3 separate regions of the Homo sapiens genome follow, and all the other regions are linked to region 2. Evidence: promoter capture Hi-C in 16 types of primary human blood cells and fetal thymus (Javierre and others, 2016). All regions are on one chromosome and are shown on one strand. Each heading gives the region's core, a stretch centred on a gene start or on the middle of the fragment in contact. The rest is flanking DNA. Distances are from core to core; before and after follow the strand shown.

What was found. The method cuts DNA at HindIII sites, captures the fragments that hold promoters and counts their contacts. A CHiCAGO score of 5 or more calls a contact.
Region 1: a fragment that was not itself captured here is called in contact with the fragment with the promoter of KCNJ5 in region 2 in 3 of 17 cell types (neutrophils, naive B cells and total B cells); the score reaches 7.2 in neutrophils.
Region 3: a contact is called between a fragment that was not itself captured here and the fragment with the promoter of KCNJ5 in region 2, in 1 of 17 cell types (neutrophils). The highest score is 5.4, in neutrophils.

What each region holds. Positions count from the first base shown.
Region 1 is chr11:128,198,346-128,202,159 of GRCh38, reverse strand. No RefSeq gene overlaps it. Among named protein-coding and RNA genes, the nearest start is that of LINC02098, 8.5 kb to the left of the region's middle. The HindIII fragment of the contact is 1,158 bases long and covers 1,286-2,443 here.
Region 2 is chr11:128,889,855-128,893,933 of GRCh38, reverse strand. KCNJ5 (potassium inwardly rectifying channel subfamily J member 5) reads right to left here and starts at 2,578. Exons shown (of 3, transcript NM_000890.5): 1 at 2,213-2,578. The HindIII fragment of the contact is 6,484 bases long and covers 2,070-4,079 here.
Region 3 is chr11:128,248,346-128,252,186 of GRCh38, reverse strand. No RefSeq gene overlaps it. Among named protein-coding and RNA genes, the nearest start is that of LINC02098, 42 kb to the right of the region's middle. The HindIII fragment of the contact is 5,676 bases long and covers 1-3,841 here.

The sequences.
Region 1 (3,814 bases), core at 615-3,114, 690 kb after region 2:
TCTACTTTTCCACTGGAGAGTGTTGCGGGAGTGTCTGTTCTCAGCCTTCTCCATGGCCAGCCGTGTGGGGCACGTTCAAGTTGCCAGACCCAGGCCAATGATTCCCTGCCCACAAGCACCAGCCAGCTGCCAACTCAGGAGATTATTTCCTGCTTGTTGTTTTCTACCCACTACAGTTGGCCTGGCAACTGGCATCACCTCTGGTCTGGAACACCCCAGCAAACTTTCCCCCCATCCCACAGGCTTTGGCCACACCCTCAAAAACAGGCTCTGAAACCCAGCCTCGGAGATGGGATTCTCCTTCCTAGTTTGTTCCTTCCTGGGGAGGGGGTGCTCTACCTCAGCCTTAGAATATTCTTCAGAATTTTCCTTCTTCCTTTCTTAGTAGCTAATCTTCTACTACCAGTTAATACTTTGCTAAAATTCGCAGTGCAAATTGCTATATGATTTCTGTCTTCTGACTGTATCCAAGGTAATATACAAACTAACTAGGTGGGAGGCCTTTGTGCATTGTTCTTCCAGGACATTGAGCATCAATTTGCTTTACATTTGCTTAATTCAGTGGGGCCTTCAAGCTTTATTCCAGGTTGTCCTAACTATATTGTGTAAAGAATGGTGGTTAGGTACTTGCACTAAAGAAGAAACAAAGAAAAATACATTACAAGGAACTTAATTATTATATTATAGGGAATTTAACTATATTAAGTTGCTGAGATTTGGCAATATGTACATTAGCAGGAGCTTGGGGATAGGTGTGTGGTGAGTGAGGGTCAGAACTTTCCGCTGACTCTTACCAGCAGCAGCATGCTATTTTGTACACAGGGCTATCTGCTTTCCATTCATTTAATATAACTACTAGGTAAACTTTATCTCTGCAAGTTTTCATATGAATTGAATTAGGAAAGTAATGTGTCACTTTTCAAAACCTCACAATAGTGGTGACGGGTGCCTGAGACGTTTGATTCATCTTGTGAGATAAAATACAGAACTGTAGCAGTCCCTCTTGGTGCTGTTAGGAGCAAGGCGGAATGAGACCACAGATTTGAAAACAGTTGAAAAACAAGTCCTTTACCTGCTGTGTCTAGTGGTTTCTAACATATCTGGAAAAAATATAAACGCTTTCTGTTTGTTTCTTCATTGCATATTCAAGGTGGTCCCTGAATAGAGACTTTAATGAGATGTTGAAAAAGAAATGCTGAGAGAGTTTGAGAGACCAATGCTATAACGAACACTGCGGCCTTCCGTTCGTCTGTCTTCCAAACCTAACATAACGTTTTCACAAGCTTATTGAACTATCTTGCACTGGTTAGAGCCGTATTCTCACAGAAAACCTTGCCATTGATGACCTTAGTTTGGAATCTTGCCAAGACTTGACACCTATGTTTTTGCTTTTTTAGCAAGACCCTTGTCCATGGATCAACCAACCATGGGCTAGAGAGGAGGCTCTGAGACATATTGTACTTTCAGCCAGTGGATAATTGAGATCACTTGTCTATTTGTGGGGTGAACTGTGGGTTTGTTGGCCAAATATATGCCAGCCACGTGTGAAACAAGATCTCCCTGCCAAACACCAACCACAGGAGGTTGTTGTTAATAATTTCATGAGTAGACAATATGGTGAGATGAGTCCCAGCTCTGCATGCGCCGGATTTCAGGAGCAGCTCTGGACAATGGGAGATGTATTGGAAAGCCTCCCCCTGCCCATAGATGTTGTCATAAACTGTATGCAATGGATCAACAGCAGCTGTGAGGAAGATTGAGTCCCTTGTCAGCTGTTGGCAGGGAGATCTATGTCTACTTTTCAAGCCTTGTGAGCATGACATTGCCCAAAGGCTAAAAGGCAGGTTTTGATCTCACTGAATGTCCCAAGTCCTCCAGTGATTCAGGAGGTGTTGCAGAAATGAGAGTGGCTCAGGCAGGTCTCCTAGGCTTTCCTAAGCATATCGATCCATCCCAACCTTCCACTCTCATGCACTGTTGTTGCTGTGTTTGGCTGATTTCATTTTGATGGAGTCTCGGCTCACTACATGCATTCAAGTGTGCAGCAAAATGGCCTAAATTTTATCTACTTAATTTAAAAGAGAATGATATGAGAATGGGTATTGACAGTGAGAGAGCAAAAAAATCACCCTGCAAAATGTCATCATCCTCACTCCCTTCAACTCACTTTTAAGAGGCAGAGAACACAGAAGTCTTCATTGAGAAATTTCCCCAATGTCCATCATGAGTTTCTCTTCAGTGGGATCATTTGAAACTATGTGGTAGAGACCAGATTCTTGGCACAGATCAGCGTATTTCACATAGAGACCAATTCTTCACCAAATTTTGTCTTCCAGTTTCAAGCAAAATTAGTATGGTTTAGCTGAGTTTTCCTAGCAGCTTGCCTGTCTGTCTACTTCTGTTCTCTTAATGACTAAATAATAGGGCATTCCTTGTTTAAGCTTTGTCATATTATTTTCTGAACACTTATATCCATATCCTGAGCTCCTAGTTGGCACTTAGTAAATGCTCAGCAATGTCTATTGGCCTAGTGAATGTTAATATTGACACTGAGCAATGTAAGGACCTGCCATTCTGCTCTTCCAACTTTCTGATTGTTTGCAATATGTCTTGAACATATCCTAATAAAATGTAAGAAACAAAGGACTTAATACTGCAAAGTGGTTAAGAGCACAGAGGTTTCAGGATCAGGCCTGAGTGTGAATCTCTGGTACGGTCTTGACCATACAACCTCTGGTCAGTTATTTAAAATTTAACTGTCCCCAGTGTCCTTATCTGTAAAATGAGTTTAATATAACAATAGATCATAGAACTTTGTGAAAATTAGATAACATAAAGTGCCTGACATATAATAAACACTGAGTATATATGAGCTATTAGAGTTGTTAACATTTCATCACTCATCAAGTGTGGGATACCATATTCCAGTCATTTTTAGATTGATGTCATGGAAGTCTGCCGTGCCATGTCACCCATGATGCCTGGACATGAGAAAAGATGTGGTATACACTTTCCCCAACAACATTTATTTATTTATTTATTTATTTATTTATTTATTTATTTATTTCTGAGATGGAGTCTTGCTCTGTTGCCCAGGCAGGTGTGCAGTGGCACTATCTCGGCTCACTGCAACCTCCGCCTCCTGGGTTCAAGCAATTCTCCTGTCTCAGCCTCCTGAATAGCTGGGACTACAGGCACGCGCCACCATGCCCAGCTAACTTTTTTTTTTTTTTTTTTTTTGTATTTTTAGTAGAGACGGGGTTTCACCATATTGGTCAGGCTGGTCTCGAACTCCTGACCTCAGGTGATCCACTTGCCTTGGCCTCCCAGAGTGCTGAGATTACAGGCGTGAGCCACTGTGCCTGGCCCCCAATGGCTTTTATTGGTAAGGACCTTTGAACTCTTTAAGGAAAGTACATTATAAAACTGAGGCATTCCCATCATTTGTGGCACCAGCAATAGCAGCAAAAGTCAAAATAACTAACAGGGTTCCCGCCACATTTTAACAACCTTTAGAAGGCAGTATTTCTAGACAGTTGTCACGTCACCAGGTTTTTTTTTTTTGTTTTCAACAGAGTATGGTAATGTACTTAGCTGTAAGGCTCTTATTTTCAAACAATTTGCATCATATTCATCTGTGTTAGAAAAATGGAAATAAAAAAATTTGAGTCAGCTAAAACTGATTGTCTCCTTTCATTGGCTTATGGGATTCCACTCCACACAAACAACTACAATGCCAGCTGGTATTTCAGCTGGAAACATCTGCAGGACCATAAATCCTTTCTTGCATAATTTTTTTTCCTGTTAAATTAAG
Region 2 (4,079 bases), core at 1,329-3,828:
TGCTTGGCACCAGGGACAGCGAGGCTGAGTACTGCTGTGACAGGGCCACACACGTGTCTCTGCTGGACCCACAGACAAAGAGCTCTGCACTGCTCAGGACTTGCCAGCAGACTCCAGGGAAGCCATGGTGGGGAACCCCACTAAGATCTGACTTCATCCCAGAGAAGACAGCTAAGCTTTGGGGACAGCCCTGGGCAGAGTGAATGTGGCCCAGGTTCGCTTTGACCCCCCCCCTCACCCTTGGCTCCTCCTTTAGCTGAACTGCTCACTGGATAGAGCACAGGCAGGCTACTTAAAAAATGCTGCCTGTGAGTAATGCCGGCAGTTTATAGCAGCTTTTGGAGAGGCCAGAAAACAGCCATGCCTGAGTGGCTGGTTCCCTTTCTGTTGGAGAGCTAGGTAGTAGGTCTAGAACGTTGTTCTGGGGACAATCCTTGTGCTTTGTGGAATGTATAGGCAAATTTTCTATCCTTTCTTTTTCTTTTTTATTTCTTTTTTTTTTGAGATGGGGTCTTGCTATGTTGCCCCAGTTGGTCTTGAACTCCTGGGCTCAAGTAATCCCCTTACCTCAGCCTCCTGAGCCAGCAATTTCTCTATGTGTTGTTTCCTGTCTTTCAATGGTGGCCCTGCTGCTGCTCTTCCAAGAAGCACATACGCTGTGCCCCAGGCCTCCCACTGAAGGCCTTATGCCTCTAGGCAGAATGGTGCCATCTCAGGTGGGGTCCATAGATAGTTTAAAATACCAGCCAAGCTGACCAAACTCTTTATGCCAGAGTCCAACCATGGGCCTCTAACTCCCACATCATTTGCTCTGCCCTGTTCGTTCCTCAGATTCCAGGAAGCCTGAGCGCCTCATTCAGCCAGATGATGCAATTTACACCTGGCTTTGAGGAAAAGCAGGGATGTGGAAAGACAAGAGCAGCTTTCAGAATTAGCTTTTGTTAGTGGAAAGACCCTGGATTTAAAGCCAGAGGACAAGAGTTTTGGAGATAGCAGTGCTGCTGCCACTTAGTGCCTGGAATTCTGTTACCCTTACTCTCATCTATAAAACAGAAGAAATAAGCTCTGCCCCACAGGACTGGTGTCAAGATGAACTCATGTAAACGTATATAGCTCGGCACCTTGGTTTCATAAATATTAGCCTTTTCCTCACATGGAAAAGTGCTTTGAGAACCAGAAAGCCCGATAAACCATATGGCTTTTGATGAAAACGAGGCACATTTTGGAGTCAGATATAGGAGAGAATCTCCCTTTATGAGCTGTGCACCTGAGGCAAATTGCACAGCCTCTCTGGGCTTCAATTTTTCACCTGTAGAATGAGGATGATAATCTCAGCTTATTAAAAGGATTGAAACAGAGTAAAATACTTGGCGTGTTCCTGTTGATCTTCTTCTGGTGTTTGAAAAGGCTCCTGGAACAGGTTTTGGGCTGGTGTTGCTCACCCTGATGTTCAGGGTAGGCCCTAGAACTTTGGGGGCCGGACCTGAGGCCCTCCACAGCCCCTGGGGTTGGAGAGCCCTGTTTGAGGGAAGGCACAGATAAAACCAGGGGGCCAACAGCTCTGCAGGGAGAAGCACTGACTTGAAGAGAAGGGGAGCAATGACAAGGCCGGCCTTCTCTGTTCCCTATCCTCTGTCCTCACAGGCTTGACCCCTGGCCTTTCTGAACCATTTGAAAGCTCTTTAAAAGGAGATAGGGAGGTACGCAGGAAGTGACTTGGGCAGCGAGGGGGGCAGAAATCACAAGGCCGTGTTTCCAGTTTGGCCACACTTAAAAGAGAAAGCAAGATTAGGCTGGGGATCTAAGGCTGAGGGGGGCACCGCCCCCCATCCTGGCCCTCCCTGCTCCCATTTGAAGGAAGAGTCCTACCAGGTGAAAAATGTCCTCCACACCCCACCCACTCCTGGCCACTGTTGCCTCTCAAACCACTGCTGGGAGATCTGGGGCACCCCCAGGTAGCCCTGGTCTAGTGCCAGAAGTGAAGGTGTTTATGGCTGGGCTCCCAACGCACAGGGCAGCCTGCAGCCACGGAGATCTCCAATTTCCTAAACTTGGACCTGCCCTAAGCTTTTCCTTATCCCCCCTGGCTCCCAGTCTAGCAGGTTCCCTGTGAAAGCCTGCTGCCCAGGTGATGGACACCTGAGGGTGTCATCCTGCCCTCCAGAACCCGCGAGCTGGGGGAGAAATGGAGGAGGAAAAGAAGACAACTTACTTGTTGAGATCGGAGCTTCCGAGTCCCACTGATGCTAACTTCTGGGGTGTCCCTTAGCGGCGGTGCAGGGGGGCTCAGGGCTTTTGAGGGGACTCCCCAGCCCCTGCCATGACCCCACGGAGGAGCTGTAGCTGGAACCTCTCCCTGTTGTGGGGTCCTGTGGGCAGAGGTACCTAAGCCATCCTGTCCCTTCACTCGCGGCCCCTTGGGTCACTCCCTTTCTCTAGCGAGAGCAGCTGGAACAATCTCTCTCTCTCTCTCTCTCTCTCTCTCTCTCTCTGTGTGTGTGTGTGTGTGTGTGTGTGTGTGTGTGTGTGTGTGTGTCCCCTCCTCCCTCTCCTCTCTCCCTCCGTCCCTGGTACAAATGAATCTCTGGGTAGTAACGCGACTGGAAGGGCCACCGGCGTTGGCGGCGGGGGGCGGGCTGGGGTGGGGCGGGGGCTCCATGTGATCCGGGACGCCGTCAGCTCGGCAGGACTGGGAGGGAAGAGGAAGGCGGAGAGAGAGCCCGGCAGGCATCCAGCCCTCCGCTCGCGTCCCCGCGGCCCCCTGCGCCCTCCCCCGGCTCCCCCTGCCCCCGGCTGCACCCCTGCTGCGGGGTGCCAGGGACGGAGACCCGCGCGCGCGCGTGTGAGCGTCCCATGCCTGTGTGTGAGCGCCGCGTGTCACGCGTGTCCGTGTGTGAGCGCCGCGTATTTAGTGGGTGCGGTGGAGCAGACAGAAAGAAGGGAGAAACTATTAGGGCAGAAATCTTGGCTCGGAGCCTCGGCGGGGCTGCTCAGTCGCTCCGCGGTGCGCTAAGCGGACGGTTGGCAGCATTTCGCCGTTTCCCGAGAGGGATGGAGCAGATGGGGGGATTCCTTTGGGAAGGCGGGGGAGCCACAGTCTGGGCGCTGCATCCCCCGCCCGACGGCTCTGATTCCCGCCGTGGAGTGAGGGTCCGGGGGCCTGATCCGCCAGCTGCAGGGGGAGTAGGTCCAGGGACAGGACCCAGGCTAGCTGTCCCCGGGCTCGCTGCTCACCCCGGACGATCTCTCCCCGGCGTGCGGCGGCGGCTGGGCGGCGATGGCTGGAAACGCGCCCTGCACGGACAGGAGGCGGGAGCAGCCCGGAGGGAACGGAGCTCAACCTTGCCCAGGCGTGGGCAGAGCCGGCGTCCTCCGCGCCACCTCCCGGCTCTCCCTTTTGGATTCCTACCTGCCTTGAGGACAGATGATGACCAGAGTGTGTTCTTTAATTCGTGGAAGCCGTAGGAAAGGCAGCTGCCAGGGCAGGCTGAAAGGGAGGGCTGCTGTCTGGGGAGGGCCGGCAGGTGCCTCTGAGGACCGGTCTGTTCGGGGTGGCCCTTCTCACCCGGTGGTGTTCCTTCTGGCCCCTCTCCGTTACCCAGCCTTTTGGGGTCAACACCCCCCCTGCCAGCCCCCTCTCTCAGGGCAGACACAGCTGGTCAAACGTGGGGTGCCCTAGCACCTAGCACAAGTGCTAGGTGAATGATGTCTACGACCAGAAAACTGGTTTATTACGTTGCAATGAGAAAAATGCTTGTCACTAATACTGGAGGGCACCAAGTCCATCCTCTCCTGTAAGGACAGTGACAGGGAAACTTAGTCTCTAACAGTGGCCTGGGGGTCCTCTTGCCTCGGAGACCAGCGTACACACAGCCCGTTGCCCAGGCACCCTCCCCTGGGACAGAGCACAGAGCGGTCCGGCCAGAGTGGGCCTCCTGATTGCCCCTCTTCTCTCTGTAGAGGGGGTGATTGTTAAATGTGGCTGCAACAGGCCCTAACAGGAAAGCTCTGTGTCCCCTTAGGGGACTCAGCTTGCCTAGGTGCTCACGCACTGCACCATATGTTGTTTGACCTCAGGG
Region 3 (3,841 bases), core at 446-2,945, 640 kb after region 2:
GAAGGGCAAGTACAAAAGCTCTGAGGTGGGAACACAGATGGAAGACCAGAGGAACAGCGAGGAGTCAAGAGCAGCTGAAGCGGATGCAAAGGGAAAAGTAGGACAGGAGGCACTGAGCAAGTTTCGGGGCCATTCCTCTGGGGAGGCAGGAAGCATGAGGGATTTGAACAGTAACAGTTTAATATATACAAATAGGGGATTAACAGGAGACTGGAGTGACAAGGGATTGACTAGTACAGGGAAAAGAGAGGCTAAAGAACACAGAAATAGTAGCTCCAGGGAGAAGCTACTGCCTATAGGACTGAGGCAGTGTACCTGTATTAGTTCATTTTCATGTTGCTGATAAAGACATACCCAAGACTGGGCAATTTACAAAAGAAAGAAGTTTAATGGACTTACAGCTCCAAGTGGCTGGGGAGGCCTCACAATCATGGCAGAAGGTGAAAGGCGCATCACACATGGCAGCAGACAAGAGAAGAGAGCTTGTATGGGCAGACTCCTCTTTAAAAAAACCATTGGATCTTGTGAAACTTATTCACTATCATGAGAACAGCATGGTAAAGACCTGCCCCCATGATTCAGTTAATTCCCGCTGGGTACCTTCCACAAGTGGGAATTATGGGAGCTATAATTCAAGATGAGATTTGGGTGGGGACACAGCCAAACAATATCAATACCCAAGGGAGGAACAAACCTGGAGAGGGGCCTTCCTCGTAGGGCTGAGAGCTAGACCTTGTGGATTTGCAGGATTTCTAGTGTTTCTAGATGCTCCTCTGTCTAATACATTTCTATGGTCAATGTAAAAATGCAGTCCTCTACAGCAGGATTTAAATAGCAGGCCCTGACCTGATTTGCCTGCATTCCAAATTGCAGATTCATAGTTTACTCCTTTCATTTCTTAAGCGTCTTGCACAAGATAGTTAAATTCTCTGTACTTCTGTTACCTTATCTATAAATAGGGATAATAATATTAAATCACACAGAATAACTGTTGTGATAATTTATAAATTAATCTCTACAAAGTACTCAGAAGGATGCCTGGTGCCTAATCAGCGTTCATTCAGTGTTACTCTTATGAACATTATTGGACAGATTTCACATAATTTCTATGCCTCACAAAAATGAACAGATTTTTATGGTCATGATGATTAATTAGTTACGATAAATCTTTTGAGAAAAAATACCCTCCCCATTATGTTTCGATGCAGGGACAAGTTCAAGTTAACGCAGAGTTGATTGAAAACAGTCACTCCCTCCTCCAACCAATTAGTGGGAGTGAGTACAAGAGAGTCTTTTAGGATACCCACATGGGAGTATTCCCCTAAATTTTTTGTGGGATGGGCTGCTGGTTTCCAATTGTACCCACTGGGTTAAAAAGAGGGGAAATGGAGTGAGATGTTATGGCTTGGTATCATTGGAGAAAAACTGGGGAATAATATCTATTTTAGAAAGAGGATGACTGCACATTCATGAACCCTGGGTGCAGCCCCTTAGAAGGAGTAAACATTGAACCCAAGTGCATTAGCCCTTCTCCATGCACTCCCAATCAGTGCTGCAAAAATAAACAGTTTATACATTCGACGTAACCCTAGAAGACCCCCCTCACCAATTATTTTATAAGTATTCCTTGGAAGATAAACACATTTCTCTAGCTTTTCTGTCCCCAGCAGGCATTTCTCTGCTATCAGCTATGGAAGTGGGATGGTAGCCCGCTTACCCCGGCACCCCAAAGCCCAGAGCTATTTTGGGAAATAGGGTATCTATATATTTACCACCCACTGGTGAAGTGTTTTATCATCTTAAATTTCCATCTCTATAAAGCTCTCCTACCTCTCCAGCTGACTGAGGTTTTCTGTCCTGGAGTATTTGAGCATGTTCGGTTGTCCATGGAGGGCACTGAGTTGGGGCCTAATGAAGCAGTGTTAGAGGTAATACTGGAACTTCTCTTCTGTTCTGTTCCATGGAAGTGATAAAATATCTACCCTCTGTTGAATACATACTATGAGCCAGAGACTGGTGTCATTTGATTTAATTCATATTACTGTCATGCCTGGTGGGTATTATTAGCCCCTCTTTAAAAAGAGGCAACTGAGTGCAAGATTACAGAGCAGGTCAACGCATGGCATGTCTCTGAAACTCCACCTACCTAATTCCAATGCCGTACTCTTTCTACTGTGACATGTTGATTTCCTATGAGGACAGGTAGCATGCATTTCATAATTCTCATGTGCTGGGAATGGTTCACAGAGATTAATGAGACCAATTGCCAATCATTGCAAGGAGCCAAACAGGTGGCATGGAACAAACAGGGAAGATAAAGTTCATTTTATTAGGCAAATGACTCGAGGTCACATAGTTAGTAAAAGACAGATATGAGGTTTGAACTCAGGTCTCTTTTCCAAAACGCACTTGTCATATTGCTGCTTTGCTCTTTGAGTCAACAATCTTTTAACCCTCTCTGATCTCATTTTCTTCAAACTTACCATGATCAATAGCAGTAGGTCTGAGCACACTACTTTTCCCCCTGTGAGCCTGCCTCATTGGGCAAATTTAATATGGTCTTGTTTCCCAGTATTTTTTCCTTTCATTATATGGGAGGGTTTTTTTTTTAACTTTGCTCCTTCTTAATTAAAAAAAAAAGATTATATGGAAGGTTTTCCTTTGAAGAACTTATTAAGCAACTACTATTTCTTCAAGGACATTTTGTCCTTTGTTATGAGATTCTTTTAAAGTATATGGAGTTTCAAAGTTCTATAGACTTTATGGTGAAGAACTAGATTTATTTTATTAAGTCTTGGGTAAATATGAGTTCTGGGAGAAGGTGCCAAACAGGTGCTAAAACAGGCCCTGGGACTGAAAAAAATATTTTGTTTTTCATCTGTACACCTTTGCACCCTTTACCCTCTGGAACATCTGCAGGTTAAAGTGAGCAGGGTCTAAGAAGGGGATTGAGATTATCAATAAGTGAAATTATATCAGAAATTATATCTGAGTTAGTTGGGAAACTGAGTGAATGAAAATAAAATGACATTTATTTATAGAAACCTGACCTATGAGCTTTTTATTTGAGAGAAAGAGGCTTTCTAGAATCCAACCCAAGTTCCAACCAAAAGCTGAATTAAGGTTGTGGAGAGTCTCCTTAATAAAATATTTAGGCTTCAAATTTAATGCCAACCTAAAATTAGATTAAAACCTTTAGAGACGACACTACATAAAATTCTTTTTGTAGCAGCTTTACATGTAGGGTTTGTTGTGGAAGCAGTAAATCTATCGGGTGATACTTTAAGTACCCAAATCCCTCTTCTCTCAAAACCTACTAACTTTGGGTGAGAATCAAGCCAATTACATCCTCAGATTGATGTAAAATCAAATAAAAAATAGAGAAAGTTGATAATAATATTGGTTCTTGATGTCAACTCAGTGGTAACTATACTTCTCAGTAAATAGGAATCCTATCTTGAACTCTCTTGTAAAAGAGTCTGGGGCTGGAAAGAAAGCTCCTCATCTCCTTCCTCTATGAGTGGCACCTACTACTTTACCACTTATTTCACCTTCTTCACCCCATTTTAGTGCTTGTCTCCCTCACTAGACCATAACTCTAGCATTGCCCAGATGGAGCACATAACTGTTAATGTTGATCAAGCTCTAACCATATGCTAGAGTTTTCTAAAGAATTTTTTCGGGGATTAACTTATTAAAATCTCTTACGACCCCTTTTGGGTAGCTAATGTCATTATATCTATTTCACACATGAGGAAATCACGACCCAGCTAGGTGAAGTAACTTGCCAAGGTCACACAATAATTAAGTGGATTTGAACAAGATTTGAACTTGAAAAACC